Linked DNA regions of Homo sapiens: regions 1 and 2 are each linked to region 3. The links are contacts of gene promoters, found by promoter capture Hi-C in human tissues and cell types (Jung and others, 2019). All regions are on one chromosome and are shown on one strand. Each heading gives the region's core, a stretch centred on a gene start or on the middle of the fragment in contact. The rest is flanking DNA. Distances are from core to core; before and after follow the strand shown. Region 1 has its middle 9.5 kb from the start of MARCHF10-AS1. Region 2 overlaps TANC2 (tetratricopeptide repeat, ankyrin repeat and coiled-coil containing 2). Region 3 holds the start of TACO1 (translational activator of cytochrome c oxidase I).

Evidence for each region. The method cuts DNA at HindIII sites, captures the fragments that hold promoters and counts their contacts. A contact is called where the count stands out against the background at its distance.
Region 1: a fragment that was not itself captured here is called in contact with the fragment with the promoter of TACO1 in region 3 in 1 of the 25 tissues and cell types used here (spleen).
Region 2: a contact is called between a fragment that was not itself captured here and the fragment with the promoter of TACO1 in region 3, in 2 of the 25 tissues and cell types used here (IMR-90 fibroblasts and dorsolateral prefrontal cortex).

Annotation. Positions count from the first base shown.
Region 1 is chr17:62,694,552-62,698,851 of GRCh38, reverse strand. No RefSeq gene overlaps it. Among named protein-coding and RNA genes, the nearest start is that of MARCHF10-AS1, 9.5 kb to the left of the region's middle. The HindIII fragment of the contact is 8,069 bases long and covers 1-4,300 here.
Region 2 is chr17:63,000,937-63,005,232 of GRCh38, reverse strand. The region is part of intron 1 of TANC2 (tetratricopeptide repeat, ankyrin repeat and coiled-coil containing 2); the gene reads right to left. Among named protein-coding and RNA genes, the nearest start is that of TANC2, 37 kb to the right of the region's middle. The HindIII fragment of the contact is 8,308 bases long and covers 1-4,296 here.
Region 3 is chr17:63,598,795-63,602,969 of GRCh38, reverse strand. TACO1 (translational activator of cytochrome c oxidase I) reads right to left here and starts at 2,075. Exons shown (of 5, transcript NM_016360.4): 1 at 1,607-2,075. The coding sequence starts at 1,886. The HindIII fragment of the contact is 17,557 bases long and covers 1-4,175 here.

The sequences.
Region 1 (4,300 bases), core at 1,079-3,578, 900 kb after region 3:
ATACCCAGCTAATTTTTGTGTTTTTAGTAGAGACAGGGTTTCACCATGTTGGCCAGGATGGTCTCGATCTCCTGACCTCATGATCCGCCCACCTCAGCCTCCCAAAGTGCTGGGATTACAGGCGTAAACCACGGCGCCCGGCCAAAACTGTTTCAGGGATTTACCCAACCAGGAATGCTTCCCATGAGGTCCAGGGTGGGGTAGACATTGAGGAGCTGGGGACTACCCACACTATCAATTTGATTTCCTGGCAGGAGTCTGCCTGCCATATGGGGCTTTTCATGGCTTGAGATTCCAAGAGGACAGCCTCATTTATTAAAAGGCAGTGATGAGGCCAGGTGCGGTGGCTCACGCCTATAGTCCTAGCACTTTGGGAGGCCGAGGTGGGCGGATCACTTGAGGTCAGGAGTTCATGACCAGCCTGGCCAACATGGTCAAACCTGGTCTCTACTAAAAATAAAAAAATAATTAGCCAAGCCTGGTGGAGGGTGCCTGTAGTCTCAGCTACTCAGGAGGCTGACGCAGGAGAATCGCTGAAGCCCGGGAGGCAGTGAGCTGAGATCGCGCCACTGCACTCCAGCCTGGGTGACAGAGCAAGACTCCGTCTCAGAAAAATAAAAAATAAAAATAAATAATGCTAAAATATAAAATAAAGCATCCCCAATGGTATAAATGTCTAATACGTCAACCGAGCCCCACTTTATTTCTATGCATTGTACCCCACAGCCCAGGAGACCCAGGTGTCCCTCCGCCACTGCTTTGGGAAGGGAGGCCGTGGAGGCTCAGAAGGAAAGAGGTCATTCTTAGCCCTCAAGTCTCAAAATAGCCCTAAAACTCTCCAGAGATGAGAGGTTGGGACAAAGTTCTTTAGTCCCCAGGCCTGACTACAAGATCTCGAGGGGCTCTCTGTAGCCCTGTTGCCCACCCCACAACACGTTTTCCAGTGCAGGGAGGAGAGGTGGCATGGCAAGTTCTTCACCTTTGTGCCTTAGCTTTCTCATCTGTAAGAGGGGGACAGTAGCACCTACCTTATGTTGTATTGGGAAGATTAAGTGAGTTAATACGTGTTAAGCAGTTAGAACAGGGCGTGTACATAGTAAATAATACCTATTTTGTTATTATCATTGTCATGGAGGAATAGTGGGTCAGAGGCAGTGTTCTGAGCCCCCTGCAGCCCCAGTATGAGGAAAGACACCATCCAAGGTTCCCCAAGTCCCTGAGGGAGATGCAGAAGGGCAGGACACCCCTGCATAAGCCAGCGGGGACATAAATGACCGGGAACCAGATGTCCCTCCCCCAGCTGTGAAACCTGGACGCTCCATAGGACCTTAGAGGCACCTGGAAATATAGGCGAAAATCCCAACTGCACTAGAAAACCTTAACTGACCAGGATTTCCCTGAAATGGCTATAACTAAAGCTCTGCCATCAGCCGATGCAAGGAGACAGTTAAGGTTCTGCACTCCTCACTGTGTGGCCTTGAACCTCAGCGCCCCCAGCGTGTCCACCTCCAGCAGGAAAGGCCTGCCCACCGCTCCTCCTCCTCCCCTTTCTCCAGCGCTGGCATCCCGCCTGCTTGTCTGGCCAAGGAAGGATTGAAATCTGTCCCTCAAATGGTGCTGGTTCTGGTGGGAGTGAAGCCTGCAGGCTTTCCCCGGGGCCTCTTGGCAGTCCCAGCCCCGAAGATAAAGAAAATCAGGCCTGTCCGGAACATCTCGGTACTTTCATCTGGTGCTGGTCTTTCACAGCCCCCTTCATTTCCCTGCTGTCCTTTGCCCGCCCTCCCTCCCTCCAGCCTGCCTTCCTCCGGGTCCTCCCTCAAGTCGCAATTCTTTGCCTTGTGCCTGCAATGGACTCAAGCCCTGGTGCTCGAGGCGGCTTGGCCGGGCTCAGGTGGCTCCGTTCCAGGAGAGCCATGTGGTGTGGCTGGCGGCTCCTCACCCCTGCGGCCTCACAGGGCTGCCCACTGGGCCAGGCCAGCTCTGCCAGCACACCTTCGAGGAGGCCATCTCTGGCGCGACAAGAAGCGGTTGAGAGAATGCTGTTCTCTGGAGAGCAGCCGCATTCTCCCATTCATTCACGGATCCAGGTGGCCAGAGCGGGGCGGGTTAACCCTGCAAGTGAAGGCTGGGCCTAGCGCCTGGCATACAGTGCTGATTGCCCAGGCCTGCCAGGATAGGCTTGGGGGCATCTGCCACCCAGCAAAGAGCCTGGTATGTAGAGGAGGTACTTGATGTATTGAAATGAAATGAGCAGAAAGGAAGGAGACTGCCACCAGGGCTATCCTGAGCCAGAGGGTGAGTGGCCGGCATCCAGAGCCTGCCTCCTGCCCCTTCAGAGAGATGCAGGAGCCTCCCTTAGTCATCTCTGGGCAGGCTTAGAACGAGGTCTAGGGGTAGCCTCCAGGCACCCGTGACGCTGTCTGAAATGCTTGCAGGTGGGTGCAGGGCCCTGGGGAGACTCGTCACCTGAGCAAGGCAGAGAGACGTGAGGAGAGCAGGCACCAGCCACTGACGAGGGCAGCTCTGGCCACTGGGGTCCTCCGTCCCTCCGCTGCTCCCTCCCACCCCTCAAGCTAGTGATCCGGACCTCACTCCTTGACCTTTCTTCTCTCCCGAGGTTAGAGTCACTAGGGTCTTGGGGGGCCTCTCCCCCAATGTTTCTTGTGGTGTTGTGTCTGGAGTTGGTTCCTTCCAGTGGGTTCGTGGTCTCACTGACCTCAAGAATGAAGCCTCGGACCTTCACGGTGAGTGTTACAGCTCTTTTTTTTTGTTTTTGAGACAGAGTCTCGCTCTGTCGCCCAGGCTGGAGTGCAGTGGCACAATCTCGGCTCACTGCAAGCTCCGCCTCCTGGGTTCACGCCATTCTCCTGCCTCAGCCTCCCGAGTAGCTGGGACTACAGACGCCTGTCACCACGCCCAGTTAATTTTTTGTATTTTTAATAGAGATGGGGTTTCACCATGTTAGCCAGGATAGTCTTGATCTCCTGACCTCATGATCTGCCTGTCTCGGCCTCCCAAAGTGCTGGGATTACAGGCGTGAGCCACCATGCCTGGCCTAGTGTTACAGCTCTTAAAAGTGGCACGGACCCAAAGAGTGAGGAGCAGCAGCAAGATTTATTGTGAAGAGTGAAAGAACAAAGCTTCCACAGTATGGAAGAGGACCTGAGCGGGTTGCTGCTAGGGGTGGGGTGGGTGGGGAGGACACAGCTTTTATTCCCTTATTTGTCCCCGCCCATGTCCTGCTGATTGGTCCATTTTACAGAGTGCTGATTGGTCCATTTTACAAACCTCTAGCCAGGTACAGAGTGCTGATTAGTGCATTTTTACAGAGCACTGATTGGTGCATTTTACAAACCTCTAGCTAGCTACAGAGCACCAATTGGTGCATTTTTACAGAGCACTGATTTTACAAACCTCTTGTAAGAAAAGTTCTCCAAGTCCCCACTCAACCTAGGAAGTCCAGCTGGCTTCACCTCTCACTGTGGGCAGTGGCAGGGCACTTAACTCACAAAGGGAGCTGTTTGGGCTGCAGGGCTAGATAGCAACTCACTCCAGGGTGAACCTCCCACAGGACTGGGACTCCCTCCCCTGAGTGATTAGGCGCCTTCCATGGGTCCTGCTGTTGCTGGGGCGGCACAGAGAGGATTGCTGGAGGGGGTCCCCTGGGCTCCACCGTAGTCCTGGACTCAGGCCAGCAGCTCATGGGCTCTCCCTAGGGCTCCTGTCTCAGGAAACAGCACCCCATTCACCCTGCAGTCCAGGCGGGAAGCTTGGAGTGCTTCCTGACTCCCACTGCCTTTCCCCAGGCAGATCCCATCCCCAGCAAGGGCATCCGCCATCCCTTCAGTCCAATCTGGCGTTCATTTGCTTTCACAAAGAAACACTGGAAAGACAGGAAACTGACAGGGCAGGAGGGTATAGGCTGGAGGGCGACGGGCAGGGGCAGGACTTGCGCAACATCTATCTTGGGATATCATTTAGGTATCCCACGCAATGCAGACTGCGTGACTGCATTGTCTATTCATAAAAGTGGAAACTTATTTTAAATATCATGAACAGGGCAAAACACACACACACGCACGCGCGCGCACACACACACACACACACACACACACACACACAGAATCTGACCACTACTGCAGTCCTGATCCCAACAAACCACCGTCTTGTTGTGCCTGAATTATTACAAGAGCTTCCGCACCAGCCTTCCTGCTTTCACTCCCCCGTTTCCCATCCATTGTCTATTTCTCAACTCCTAGCCAGAATGATCTTGTTAAAAGGTCAGCCTGATTAGCCATTC
Region 2 (4,296 bases), core at 863-3,362, 600 kb after region 3:
CCAAGTCATTAATAGGTAAAAGGAAAGTCTTTTCAACAAATCGTGGTGAAACAAAGAGATAATGCATTTTTTAAAAAAAATGACCTATATATCATGCTATTAAAATTAATTCAAAATAAACATCACATAAAAGCTAAAATTATAAAGATTTTTTTTAAAAAAATTCAGAGCAGTGTGAAGAAGAAGGCAACAACAACCTCCAGATCAACCAAAGCCCGTGAGTCACTGCATCCCTGTGATCAGTGCCCACATCCCACCACTGATGCCACCATGCCCACGAGAAGGATTGAAGGGGATAGATACTAAACGAGATAAAGCCAATGTGAAGGATAAACCACAGAGAAAATCCACAAGGTTGTCTGCTAAACCTGCTCCTCTAAAACCAGGGCCAAAGCCAAAAAAGGCCCTTGGTAAAGAAAGGAAAGAAGGTACCCAAAGCGGGTAAGGGGAATAACCCTGCAGAAAATGGAAATGCCAAAACAGAGCAGGCACTGAAAGCTGAAGCTGCCGGAGATACCAAGTGAAGTGTGTGCATTTTTGACAACTGTGGACCTCTGGTGACTGTACGGTTTGAAATACTATTTTTTATCAAGTTTTATATAAATGCAGAATTTTGTTTTCCTTTTTTTTTTTTTTTTTTAAAGCTATGCTGTTAGCACACAGAACACTTCATTGTTGCTTTTTGGGGAAGAGGCATATATCACTACTAGAATGTATCCAAAGCTGGATTGATGTAAGGAAAACACCTTTTCCCTTCTAGTTTTAAGAAACTTCCTCTTGGCTCCCAGGAAGAAGGATTTCCTGACTTTGACACACATAGCCACCTTGGCACAAATGCCACGTGGTATGAAAAAACAAATTCATTCTTACGTCCTCTTCTCCCTTTCCACCTTCAGCACAGACTTAACTCCTTAGGCCCAAACACCTGTTGGGACCTGAGCCCCAGTAATTGGTTACCAGTGTGTCAGGCAATCTGAACCTTCCAGTGATGCCACTGAGATGGCGCCCCTCAAAAGAGCAGCAGTTGAGGATCTTCAGATAAATTTTGCCATTTTCATTTCGCTACCTGAAAGTCAGGGCTGGCTCATGAAAAGTTGTTAAACAACAGCTAAATGTGAAATGTCAACCCTCCCTCTAAACTTTCCCTGTTCTGAGCATCAAATGAAGACTTCATGGGTTTTATAGTGGCTTTCTGATTTTTGGTGGTCCATCAAAGAAGGAGTCTGAAAGTTGTTGTACACTGTTAATGATTGTCTGCCCATGTCCTGCCTGAAATACCATGACTGTTTCTGGGAAGTATCTTCAAGAAAGCAGAGTACAGTTTGAAAAAAAACAAACAAATTAAAAAACAGACTGTCTCACTATTTACAGGTAGACAAAGGATTCTTAGGAACATAGAAAGCAACAGCCACTTAAAAAAACATATATTTGGAGGTTATTAAAAATTTAAAAACATCTGCTAAGATAACATTAAAGAAAACAGGCAAGCCACAAACTGGGAAAAATTATTCACAAAACATATATAACACAGGACTTACATCCAAGATACAGTAGTCCCCCTTTATCTGCAGTTTTGCTTTCCATGGTTTCGGTTACCTGCAGTCTAAAAATATTACATGGAAAACTGCAGAAATAATTCATGTTTTAAATTACACACCATTCTAAGTAGCCTGATGAAATCTCACACCATCCTGCTCCATCCTGCCTGGGAGGTAAAACATCCCTTTGTCTAGTTTATCCAAGCTGTATATGCCACCTGACCACTGGTCAATTAGCAGCCACCCTGGTTATCAGATCAGTTACTGCATATAGCGTGTACAGGATTTGGTACTGTCATTTCAGGCATCCACTGTGGGGTGTGTCTTGGAATGTGGATACGGAGGGACTACTGTATATAAAGAACACCTACAACTCAGTAATAAAGAGACAATCGATTTTCAAATGGGTAAAAGATTTGAACAGGTAGTTTCAAAAAGTAGATATATAAATGACCCACACCCAAATTATAAGGGCTCAACATTATATGTCATTGCAGAAATACAAATTATAATTAGCTATCCACTATACTCCCACCAGAAGAGCTAACTTTAAAAAGTTTGACAATATCAAATATTGATCACAATGAAGAGTAATTTAAATTCCAACACACTATTTTAGGAGTATAAAATGGTACAATGGCTTTGGAGAAAAATATAGCTGTTTATTATGAAACTTACTGTACACCTAATGCATGACTCCACCTCTACTATTTACCCAAGAGAAATTAAAACATATATGCATAATGAAAAGACTAGTACAACAATTTTCATAACAGATTTATAATACCCTATACCTAGACTAGGTGTCCATCAACAGACGAATAAACTATGGGATATTCACAAAGAGGAATATTACTCAGCAAGAAAAAGGAATGAACTACTCATACAGTCAACACAGATAAATCACAACATATAATATGCCAAGTGAAAGAACCTTTACATAGAAGCATATGCATTGCATTATTACATTTATACCAACTTCAAGAATAATCTATGCCAAAAAAATCAGAATAATGGTTGTCTCTTGGGGGTAGATATGGGGATCAACTTAGAAATGGCACGAGGAACCTTTCTAGGATGATGGTAATATTCTATATGTTTTGAAGATGATTACTTTTTTCAAATGAAAAATGTAAACAAATGCTAAAATCCACTTAATGATATTCATGCTTAAATAGGAGAAAGCATATAGATGTCTGCAGATTATTACTTTGAAATGCATCAAAAAATAAGGTGGATTGATGGACTGATGGAGGCATAGAGAGGCAGATATGTGATGAATTATAACAAAATAAAATGTTAACAGTAAACTGTAAGTAGTGGATATACATGCGATAACTAAAACTATTTAAAATGTAAATAACTGAGCTGTTAATGGCTTGGAGATGCTCCCCCACTTCTCCAGAGAACTGCCTTTGGCTAACTGGCACCATCTTGCCCAGAAAGCTTCATGCCTTACTACTTCTACCCTAGAGAGGTTCTCAGTCAATGACTAATTATTAATCATTGAGATACAAAAGACCAGCTTCCTTAATTCCAGGGGAGGGCAACTCTGTGGTATGATTTATGCTCCAAAACCGTCACCCATAACTTCTTATGTGTTCTTCCCCAAATACTTACCTCCAAAAGACATCTTATATACCTGATTGTCTTATCAGTTTCCCTACTAGAATATAAGCTCCAGGAGGGAAGAGAAGATGCCTGTTTAATTCATTGCTACAGCCCTGTAAATGGAAAATAATACTTGATACACAGGAAGTGCTAAATATTTGCTGAATTTATCAATTACATATTTTTGTTTGTATACCATTGTCCATATCAAATCCCTTATAAAGAAATCTGGTCTTGACCAGGCGCAGTGGCTTATACCTGTAATCTCAACACTTTGGGAGGTAGAGGCGGGCAGATCACTTGAGGTCAGCAGTTCAAGACCAGCCTGGCCAATGTGGTGAAACCCTGTCTCTACTAAAAAATACAAAAAAGTTAGCCGGGCATGCTGGCATGCACCTGTAGTCCCAGCTACTTGGGAGTCTGAAGCAGGAGAATCGCTTGAACCCGGATGGCAAAGGGTGCAGCGAGCTGCCAGAGGACTCCAGCCTGGGCAACAGAGGGAGACTCCATCTTGGAAAAAAAAAAAGAAAGAAAGAAAAAGAAAAAAAAAAAAGAAAAGAAAAGAAAAACGAAAAGGAAACCTGGTCTTATTAATCTTTTTAACCACAACACCTAGTTCATGGTAGGCTCTCAACATTTCTTGAATGAGTAAATAAACTGAGCAAAGACACAATTCATCAGATTTACTGACTTAGTAAAGAAGGGGCATAATAAAAGTAAGTTTCATTGAGCGAGAAATGATTTTAAATCAACCAGAACAATGAGGACTACCTAGAATGAATGTGTACCAGGGAATCAAGAAAAGGCATGAAAATTGTAGGAATAGTTCAAAATTTTATCTGAGGGAAAACCAAGAATATTCTAGGCTTACTTAGAACTTCTAACTCAAACTCTGATTATTTACACATAGTTGTTCAAAGTTTTGAAAGGAAAAAAATGAGTGCAGATTATCATTATCATAAAAACAGCAACTTATTACTTAAAATTTACTAAGAGTCAAAAAAAGACCAGGAGAACATACTTAAGTTGATTTAGGTAAAATATTTTGGTGGGTGGCATAAATTATAGTGATGGCTACTTCTTGAAGATATAGAGGGTTTTTTTTTTTTTTTTTTGCTAGTTCTAAAACTTTTTTAATTACTTCAAT
Region 3 (4,175 bases), core at 826-3,325:
GCCACCGTGCCCAGCACTTTGTGCATAATTATTGAAATGTTCACATGACATTGTGATCTGAGGGTAGGGGCTGTATCTCATCATCTTTCTAGTACCAATGGCATGCCTGGCACAAAATAAACACAAGTTGGTTGAACTTCATTGGGATGCAGTGGCTGATACCTGCAATCCCAGCACTTTGGGAGGTGGAGGTGGGTAGATCATTTGAGGTCAGGAGTTCGAGACCAGCCTGGCCAACATGGTGAAACCCTGTCTCTATTAAAAATACAAAAAAATTTAGCCAGGCATGGTGGTGCACACTTGTAGTCCCAGCTACTCCGGAGGCTAAAGCAGGAGAATCACTTGAGCCTGGGAGGTGGAGGTTGCAATGGGCCAAGATCACGCCACTGCACTCTACCCTGGGTGACAGAGTGAGACTCTGTCTCAAAATAAATAAATAAATAAATAAATAAAAGTTGCTTGAACTTAATATCAAGAATTTTGAAGAAAAGGAAGCAAACAAATACCAGGCATGAGCTGAGGGGGTAAATTAACATTAACTGAATGCCTATGATGTGCCATAAACCATAAACTACCTCAAGGTGGGTATTATCCTTGTTTCAGAGAAACTCAAGTTAAGCTACTTGTTCAAGGTTAGTCAGTGACAGAAACCAGTCTTCCTGACTCCAAAGTCCACAGTTTCTCTCTCTTTTTTTTTTTTTTTTTTTGAGATGGAGTCTTGCTCTGTCACCCAGGCTGGATGGAGTACAGTAGAGCAATCTCGCTTACTGCAGCCTTCAACTCCTGGGTTCAAGCAATTCTCCTGCTTCAGCCTCCCGAGTAGCCAGCATTACAGGCATGCACCACCATGCCCAGCTGTTTTTTTTTTTTTTTTTTTTTGTTATTTTTAGTAGACACAGGGTTTCCCCATGTTGGCCAGGCTAGTCCTGAACTCCTGACCTCAAGTGATCTGCCTGCCTCTGGCCTGGGATTACAGGCTGTGCCACTGCGCCCAGTCCAAAGTCCATGCTTTCTACAGGACTTTTCCTTTGCTCCTACAGATGTCTGGCCCTAAACAGAAAAAAAGCCTTTTCAGTGTGGCGACCTAAGGGAGAAAAGACATGGCTGCAAATCTACCTTCCAAGGAAATGTGTCTTGGGGAAACATTAATGAAGCAAACTAAGGCCTAAGCTAAGGCCTAAGCACTTAAGTAATAGCTTTACTCAGTGCCCCTGCCACAACCAATAAGGTACTTGAGGCGACTTCAGAGGGGTTGATTTGTCTCTTCAGGAGAGACACACATCTGCCCTGACTCTTAGGGCTTGTTTCTATTAAGTACCCAGCTAGATTAGGATGAAGTCACTTCTACCTTACCGGCTTATCTTCTTAAGAGCAGCTCCCTCTCTGACAAACTGGCCAGATGCTCAGCGTCTGGAAAAGTGAGTGAGAACCTCCAACGTAGGGTAGGTGTTTTGAGGATTTATGAGGTGGGCAATGGTGGGTACTGGGGAAGGAAAACAAAGTGAAGGGCCGGAGATCTAGGTGGGCCCAATTCCGAGAGGCAAGCGAGGCTGCGGGCACTGAGAGGGCAGCGGCAGCCAGTGCTGGGTGACCGTCAGGGTCTCACCTTTCACTGCCAGGCGGATGTTCAAACAGAGTTTGGAGAAGATGCGACTCCTTTCGACGTCCTTCGGACCCTTGATGTGCCTGACTTTGGACCACTTGTTGTGCCCGGCGGGGACAGCCGCGGTAAAGTGCAGCGTCCTGCCCGGAGCGGCACCGCAGCCCCGGGGCTCGGGGTGGGAGGGCCGGGGGTCGCGCGGAGGAGCCGCCCTGACCCCGGGGCCTCGTGCCAGCAAGCATCGGGCAGCGGCCCTGCTTAGGCTGGCAGCAGCCCAAGCCGACATCGGTCCCGACCCTGGGGTTCAAGCTGCTAGCAGCAGCGGCCAACGCCGGCGCGTCTCTTCCACTGCCGGAACAAGCAGTTCCGGACCCCGCGGCCGCCTGTGCCGGTCACCTGAGATCCAAAGGCTTGGGCCCGCCCGGGGCGGCTCAACAGCTAATGACCCTACACTGTCCCCGCGGCACCCGGGACTGGGGGCCCTTGATGGCGTAGCACACTTCCTTTACCGGGTTCGCTCCAAAAACACGTCCCCACTGCCCGCAAAGTCCGTTCCGTGGCTGCACGGTACTCGCTCCTCTCTTGCCCTTGAGCAGATCTAGTTAGTGCTCAAGCCCTCACGGTTGCCTAGAGAGCGCCGGACTTTGTTTCTCATAATGTTTTAGTGGAGACACATCTGAGTTATGAAACTGACTTTGCTTCCAAATTGCTGCCTAAATCTGAGCAAGTCCAGAATGATATTTTGTTGTTGCCTCATTGTACTGGGAAAGAAACTGCTGCCAGAGAAGTGAATTGCCCAAATGTTTAATCTCTCTGAACGTCTTCCCTATTTATAAATAAGGATCTAATATTTGCTTTATCAACATAGGAAAGTTAGAAACACAAAATGAGCCCTTAGAGCTTTAAAGTAATAAAGTTTTATGTAAATAGCCACAGTGCACTTAAGCCCCTAGATGCAAGAGATGGTTTGGGACAGACTCAGATGAGTCACAGGCCTTTGGGAGAGGGAGAATGATCAGACAAGCCCTTTGGAGCTAAACTCCCCTCTTCATTTTCTCTCTGCTGTCTCGAAAGAGAAAACCGAATCCGTTAGAAGATGGAGAGAAACAAAGCGGCAGCTGCTGAAAAGCTTTGTAGTGACTCCCATGCTGGTGAGATTAAGTCCAAAGGGCATGACATATCAGGTAGAGAAGCAGGACAGCCGGGCGCGGTGGCTCACGCCTGTAATCCCAGCACTTTGGGAGGCTGAGGCAGACGGATCGCTAGGTCAGGAGTGCCAGACCAGTCTGACCAACATGGTGAAACCCCGTCTCTACTAAAAATACAAAAAAATTAGCCGGCCGTGGTGGCGCGCGCCTGTAATGCCAGCTACTCAGAAGGATGAGGCAGGAGAATCGCTTGAACCCGGGAAGAGGAGGTTGCAGTGAGCCGAGATCGCGCCACTGCACTCCAGCCTGTGCGACAGAGCGAGAATCCAACTCAAAAAAAAAAAAAAAAAAGAGAGAGAGAGAGAGAGAGAAGCAGGACAGTGTGAAGTCCAAGTTTGTGCCCTCTGCAGTTAGACTGGGTGGCTTCAAACCCTGGTTGTTCCATTTTCTAGTGTATCCTTGGGCAAGTTCCTTTACTTTCCTGTTTCAGTTTCCTTACCATAGAATGGCCTTGTGAGGACTAAATGGGATAATGGATGCAAAGCACAAAAGCATAGATTTTTTATTTTTTATTATATAAGAACCTCCATGGGGCTGGGTGCGGTGGCTCACGCCTGTAATCCTAGCACTTTGGGAGGCCGAGGCTGGCAGATCACTTGAGGTCAGGAGTTCAAGACCAGCCTGGTCAACATGGTGAAACCCCGTCTCTACTAAAAATACAAAAATTAGCCAGGTGCGGTGGGTGCCCATAGCCCTTCATACATGCTTGCACCTTAGCACTTACCTTTTAAAAAAATATCAAAATGTTTATATCTGTTTCTACCGTAATACTAAATTCTCTGAGAGTAGGACTGTACTTCCTATGCCCAACACAGTTCTCATTTTTTAAAAAATTAAGTTTTGACATATTTCACAGATCACACAGATCACCAATTCAAAGTGTACAATGTGTTATAGAATATTCAGAGCTGTGCACAATTGATTTTACATTTTCATCATCCCCAAAAGAAGTCCTGTACCCATTAGCAATCATTCCCTATTTCCCCCCAATTCCCACAGCCCTAGGCAATCACCAATTTACTTCTGTCTCTGTGGGTTTGCCTCTTCTGGACATTTAATATGAATGGGCCCACACACTATGTGGCCTTTGGTAACTGGCTTCTTTCACTTAGCATGATGTTTTCAGGATTCTTGCATGTTGTAGCATGTATCAGTATTTCATTTCTATTGCCAAATAATATTCCATTGTATGAATATACCACGTTTTATTTATCTGTTCATCAGGCAATGGACATGTGGTTGTTTCCACCTTCTATGATGAATAATGAGGCTGTGAACATTCATGTACACATTGCTGTGTGGACCTATGTTTTCACTTCTTTTAGTTATATACCTAGGAGTGGAATTGCTGGGTCATATCATAACTA